Regions from separate parts of the Homo sapiens genome. Here region 2 is linked to region 1. The links are contacts of gene promoters, found by promoter capture Hi-C in human tissues and cell types (Jung and others, 2019). All regions are on one chromosome and are shown on one strand. The core of a region is centred on a gene start or on the middle of the fragment in contact, and the rest is flanking DNA. Distances in the headings are between cores, read along the strand shown. Region 1 holds the start of KCNE1 (potassium voltage-gated channel subfamily E regulatory subunit 1). Region 2 has its middle 21 kb from the start of CLIC6.

The links. Contacts are between HindIII fragments. The study calls those that stand out against the background at their distance.
Region 2: a contact is called between a fragment that was not itself captured here and the fragment with the promoter of KCNE1 in region 1, in 3 of the 25 tissues and cell types used here (IMR-90 fibroblasts, lymphoblastoid cells and spleen).

Annotation. Positions count from the first base shown.
Region 1 is chr21:34,510,489-34,513,622 of GRCh38, reverse strand. It overlaps KCNE1 (potassium voltage-gated channel subfamily E regulatory subunit 1), which reads left to right and starts at 1,413. Exons shown (of 4, transcript NM_000219.6): 1 at 1,413-1,596; 2 at 2,308-2,522. The HindIII fragment of the contact is 8,709 bases long and covers 1-3,134 here.
Region 2 is chr21:34,646,541-34,649,895 of GRCh38, reverse strand. No RefSeq gene overlaps it. Among named protein-coding and RNA genes, the nearest start is that of CLIC6, 21 kb to the left of the region's middle. The HindIII fragment of the contact is 3,209 bases long and covers 1-3,026 here.

The sequences.
Region 1 (3,134 bases), core at 164-2,663:
GATGGATGGATGGATGGATAGGGATTTTGGAGGAAGAGGAGTGAGCAGTCACTGAAAAGAATAGAAAAATAATGAGGCTTGCTCCCTCTCCCTAGTCAGAAGAGCCAGTAAGCAGCTTAGAGCTTTAATCCCACAAATTGTCAGGCAGCTGGCGCAAGAACAGGGAAAAAGAGAGAGAGAGAGAGAGAGAGACCCTGTCTGTGGTAGGTTATGGTCATCAGTGAAAAAGAACAAAAACCTTTGTTTTAAAACTCTCCTCAAAACAGATGATTGGCTAGAGGGTGCGGCACAAAGGAACTTGTCAGGGTGATGGAGACATTCTGTATCTGGATTGAGCAATGCAAGAACCTGGGTAAAGACACAGTCATGGTAACAGCTGTATACATCTGTTGAAAACTCATCAAACTTATCATATTTAGAAAGGGTACATTTTGCTTCATGTAAAGTATGCCTCAATAAAGTGTACTTGATTTTAAAATCAGGATAAAGGAAAAAAACATTGATCTTGGATAATGGGCAGGGGTTGGGGAGAAGGTCTTAATTATCATCATATCCTTTTAAAAACGTTTTTCAAGTGTGTGATGCTCTGATGACATTCTTAAGACACAGCAAGGCAAAGCAGTATCCCAAATGAGAGAGTGAGCATTCCAATAAATATTTTCTGTAAGACACTGATATGTCTATGACTATTTGCTAAATTTAAAAATCAACTTGGACCATATTTACTCCCTTAAAGTCTAATAGACGACTAATTTCTTCTATGTTCAGAACAAATATGTTGCTACTTTAAGAACAGCATACATAGGTGTGGTCGGCCCTCTGTGTCTAAGGCTTCTGCATCTGTGGATTCAACCAACAATGGACTGAAAATATTCCAAAAATAAAATAAAATTAATGAAACAACAACAAAAATAAAACAAATAAAAAAATGCCAGGTAACAACTACTTACAAAGCATTTACATAGTATTAGGTGTTAGAAGTAATCAAGAGATGATTTAAATCACCATCTATGATTGGCTGATATGCATAGGTTATATGCAAATACTATGCCACTATATATAAAGGACTTGAACATTCGCAAATTTTGGTATCTGCAGGGGATTCTGGAACCAAACCCCATGGATACCAAGAGACAACTATATATAAAATACTGAAAGAGGCATGGAGAGTGATTTTCAGGCCTCTACCTAAAGCCCTGAATATTAGAAATTACTGAATTTCTTCTCAGGAAGGAAATTACGCCATAAACCAGTGTTGCCACACACCCAGAGAACAAGATGACCCGACGCCCCAGCCTGGTCATGCCACATGAGCTGAGCAGTGGGTAGGCCACTGAGCCAGTGATAGAAATCACAAATTACAAAACGTCAGAGTACTTTCTGGAAATAAGCCTTCCTCTCCAGGGAACAACGCATTTGACACTTGACTGGGATACACTACCGGATCCTCCGAGGGTGATGGTTCTCAAGAAGGCAGAAGCAATGGTGACCAATAGACCTCCTTAAAGGCTGAGCCGCTGGGCACCTTCCTACTCCTCTCGACCGTGCTAGGATGACTGCAGCAGAGTCCCCGAGTCCTTTGATGCAAGGGTCTAGGTGAGTTCGAAGGAGAGCCATACTAGGCCAGGCAGAAAGGCCCATGGTGATGGCTGTCCACCCTGGTCAGGGGAATTCTAGGTTCAGGCCATGCGGCAAGGTCACCTTGAGGGACATGCTTTGCTCTAAGCTCAGCTTAAGTGTGTCTGAACCCCCCTCACTTCTTCCAACTGCAGAAGCACATGGAGAAGGGGGAGAAAGGGTTGCCCACCTCCTAAAATGAGGGCAGCGTGGTGAAGAGCCCCATCATGCCCCACCAAGGTCCTGTGTGCAGGGCAGGGCAGTGCCTATCCAGAAGGCCAGACCTCTAACTGCTGCTCTGTAGGACGTCCGGGCCTCACATGCAGGCTCCTATAAGCTGGCTGTCTTGGCAAGAGGGCCCTGGTACAGCACTGTGTTCATCACAGAAAACCACACCGTACATAATTTGTAACAGACAGAAATGCATTTGGCTCATGGTTCTGGAGACTGGGAACCCAGGATGGAGGGGCCACATCTGGCAAGGGCCTTCTTGCCATGACATGGTGGAAGGTATCACAAGGTTGGGGAAGGAGGGGTGGGCGGGGCGGGAAGAGAGAGAGAGAGAACAAGAGAGAGAGAATCCATTCATAAGGGTGGAGCCCTCATGACTAAACACCTCCCATTAGGTCCCACCTCCCAACACTGTTGCTTTGGGGATTAAGTTTCCAGCTGGCTTTTTTCAAACCTTAGCAACCACCAAACAGACAAGCCCTTCGGCCTGTCCTGGAGGGCGTTGAATGGCATGGCCTGGAGCTCAACCAGGAGAACCGTGCTCAGGAGGAAGAGACCAGAAGGATAACTCAAAAAGTTCTGAGAAGTTCCTAAGACCACCTGAAGAGAAGGAGCCTGCTGCCAATGGTGTGGACACCGCAGTGTGCTTGAGGAGACTTCAGAAACGAGAACTGGTAGGAGAAGGGGGTTGCACAGACCCTTTCCTCAGTTAGGCACCCTCTGCTCCCACCCTCATGCCCACCCTGACATCAGGCTAAGGGAGAGGCGCTCATCCATTGACAGGTGCCAGGCTGTCCTGGGCCTGGCAAACCCTGGCCTTGTACACCCACTCTCCACACGTCTGCCCCCACCCTCCCAGGGGCAGGGCCGGGCTTCCCTGCAGAGACACAGGGCAAAGAGGGAGAGAGAAGGCCTCAGGCCAGGGCATGGCCTAGTGCCTCCCAGCGCCAGGTCCTGACAGCCTGAGAGAGCTGGAATCAAGGAAGGTGATCCTGGGCCCCAGACAGACGTCAGTGAGCTTCAGCCTCTGGTGGCTGCACACCAGCCAGGGCAGCAGCGCCCCCTCCTGCCTGTGTTCAGCTGTGTGGGCTGCAAGAGGACTAAGGAGAGTTTCAAGGAGGCAGGCAGTGGGGGAGGAAGTGTCCCAGGTAGAGGCTGAAGCTTTAAGGAGGATGGGAGGGGAGGCTTCACCCGGAAGGAGCTTTTGGAGCAAGGGCCTGAAGGAAATTGGGGAGAGAGCCTGAGTATCTTTGGTAACTGGGAAGAGAGCATTCCAAGCAAAGGGA
Region 2 (3,355 bases), core at 173-2,672, 140 kb before region 1:
GACAGGGGACTTTGGGGGCTTATAAAATTTTTGTGTTTCAATATATGTGAATTGTATCTTAAAATACTCTAAATGTAATCCATATGCTAGTTACCTGAGTATTCCTCATCTTCTAGCTCTCTCTCAGTCTCACCTGGCTCCCTCTGCTCTAACCACCTGCATCTGCCCCATCTCAACCCTACCTCCACCTGCTACTCTCTTCGCTCCTCCTTGTCTTAGCCCAGGTGAATGCAGCCTCTTTTCTGTGGTTTTTCTAACATACCACCTCCCAGAAGGCAGTTGGACATAGTTAGGACATAATTTATAGCCAAACCCAAACACTTCTGAAAGTGAAAGTGATTACTCTGGGGCCACAGGTGCAAACCATGAGGCTATCCTGGAAAACTAGGATCCACAGCTCCTTGCTATGGGAGATGCTCACTCAAGGTTTGGGGCCAGTGATGGGCAGCGGGTTGGGGGCTGGTCCCTGCCCATGTCATCCCGAATCCTCTCTCAGCTTGCCCGCTTGCAACCCCCAAATCCCTCTTCATTTATTGTGCAAAGCAATTTATCATCCCTCTCTCTGCTTCATTCCTCACCCTGTTTCAAAGTCCAAAAGCCCAACAAGGGGCTCATACTAGTCAGGTCTCTCCCCTGGTATGATTCTACTGTCTGCTCTTGAACCCCCAGAGACAGTAGCAGTCATAGCTAGTGGGTCATGATTATTTAATATGCTGAGCTCTTCCTGTGGATTATATCACTCCTCCCTTTTAGGCCTCTGTGAGGTAATTAAAATCACTATGCCCATTTTACAGATAAGCAGACTGACGTTCTGCAGCATCAAATAACTCTGGAAAGCAGCAGAGCTAGGAGTTCAACCGAGGTGTCTGAGACAGCAGGTGCCCAGCAGAACCCTTACATCAGGCCAACATTGCCCTTGCCTTGTTCGGGGCACGGAGCACAGGTTTGCACGGAGCCAGTGTTTGCTGTCTGCCTGCCCCCACTCCACTGGCATGATTGCATTGTTTAAACAACCAAATGAACTCAACAGCTGACAAATAACCCAGTGGTTTCCATTGTATTTGGAGCTGTGTGAGCTCAAATGATCAGTGATGAGATCTGCCAAAGTGTGAGCTCATGAACTCCGGCTCAAGAACCAGGAGAATGTTTCTCCTCCACTCATGATAACCTTGTTCAGAATTGTGAAGTTGCTTCCCCTCAAGGCATTAAAACTTAGACTTGACACCACACCAGTAATTTCTCTATGACTCCAGATCTGTGAATGCAAGCTGAAAATGTAAATGGAGAATTCAGGTATTAGTCTAACTATTCCGTGGCTAAATGTGGAGAGTTAGAAATGCCTCCCGGGCGGATTTAACTTTTCCATTTCATCCAAAAGCTTGATAGTAAGGCAAAAACACCATGGCTTTATATAACTGATGTTCCCTTCTTTTTTAATGAATTTGTTGACAAGCTGGAGGGTAGGTACTTGAAATGTGTTTTTCTCATAGAAGTGAGATTGATAAATGGTGATTAGGTGTCCAGAGACGTTCATTCATGTGAGTCCTGGGAAGAGAGGGCCGAAAGGAGAGGATGGAAAAAAGAGAGTTTCATTCTCCTTTCTTGGACCCCAAATCAATCTACCATAAATGTTTGTAAAATGAGCAAGTCTCTGGAATCTTCCCACCCACTTCTCTGAGGGCGTAATGTTATACTTGAGAATTGCAGGCTCTTGGTTTCCTCTTACACATGAGGAACTCCCAATCTGCCCAGTCTCCCTCCAATCTGCCCAGTCTCCCTCCCTTCATCATCCCATCACCTGCCATCCCTCCTGAAATCAAAATTCTTATCCTGTTACCGAGTGTAAGTTCTATGAAGAGTTTTGAAGCTAGAACAGCAAACTCTTTTATGGTGCTGACGATATGCCAGGCACTACTATAAACACATAACATACATTAGCTCATATGATTAATATAATCCTTGACGTAAATGCTAACGATGTAAAGATGTGGGATAGAGAAGGTAAGCAATTTGCCCAAGGGCACACCGTCGGGAAGTGGTAGAGCCCCACAGTGCAGAGTGTACCCAGACAGCCTGGCTCCAGCGTCTGTGAACCTAACCCCATGAACGTAACCCTTCCTAAGGCTGGGGAAGCATGTGCCTGGTTGCAAGCATTGTGCCATGTGTGCATGCATTTAGCAGTCATGCACTGGGACCTGCTGGTTGCCAGCCACTGTGCTGGGGCCAGGGACACAGGGGTCACAAGGCCATCTAGTCTATGTCCTTGTGCAGCCACATTCCTGGGGGGCTTCAGACAATTAGACAAACAATGACAACATGAGGAAGTAAATGTTCTGCATATCTAGGAGTATTTAGGAGGAGTGCCCAACTGGGACCCAGGGCCAGGCCAGGTAGATGTGGGGAGGGTTGGTCAGCTCTGAGGTACACCTGAAGGATGAATAGAGGTTTTGCTGGCCAGGAAAAAGGTGGGAGATGGCATTCCAGGCAAGGAAAGGGCATGGGAAAAACCCAGAGCAAGGAGTATGCCAGGGAAAAAAGTTGTCTCAGTGAGGATGGAGCCAAGTGTGAACAGGGACAGCAGGCAACTGAGAGGCCTGGAGAGGCAGGCAAGGACTTCCCTTGGTTCTTACCTTTTAAATTTCTTTCATTTTTAGAGACAGGGTCTCACTCTCTTGACCAGGTTGGAGGTACAGTGGTGCAATCATGGCTCACTAAAGTCTTGCACTCCTGGGTTCAAGCAATCTTCCTGCCTTAGCCTCCCGAGTAGCTGGGACTAGAGGCACAAGCCACCACTCTTGGCTAATTTTTTATTTTCTATTATTTGTAGAAATGGGGTCTCACTGTGTTGCCCACGCTGGTCTCGAACTCCTGGCCTCAAATGATCCTCCCACCTCAGCCTCCCAAGGTATTGGGATTATAGGCATGAGCTACACACCCAGCCAAGGACTGCACTTTGAAGGGCCCCACAAGCCCCATCAGAAAGTCTGGGCTTTATCCGAAGAGCATTAAGGCACCCCAAGGGGCTGCCCACTGTGGGGTGGTATGGACCGCTGTGCATGTAGAACACGCAGGAGATGAGTTAGGAGGATGCAGTAGCAGTCCCAGGGGATGAAGGTGGCCTGGATGATGCCTTGGCCCCCACTCTCTACAAATCTAATGCAACCGCTTCCTGAAATCGAATGCAACCGCTTCCTGAAAAGTGGAGGCTCCAACCTTGGGAGTCCAGGACCTGAAAATTGTGCTGGGCTCAACATCAAAGAGTAATGGAGTGGGGGGTGTTGTCTGAAAAGGGCCTGACCAACTGCGGGGCTGTGATTTTTTTCCACCAGCAATTCTCAACCAGGGGCAATGTGCC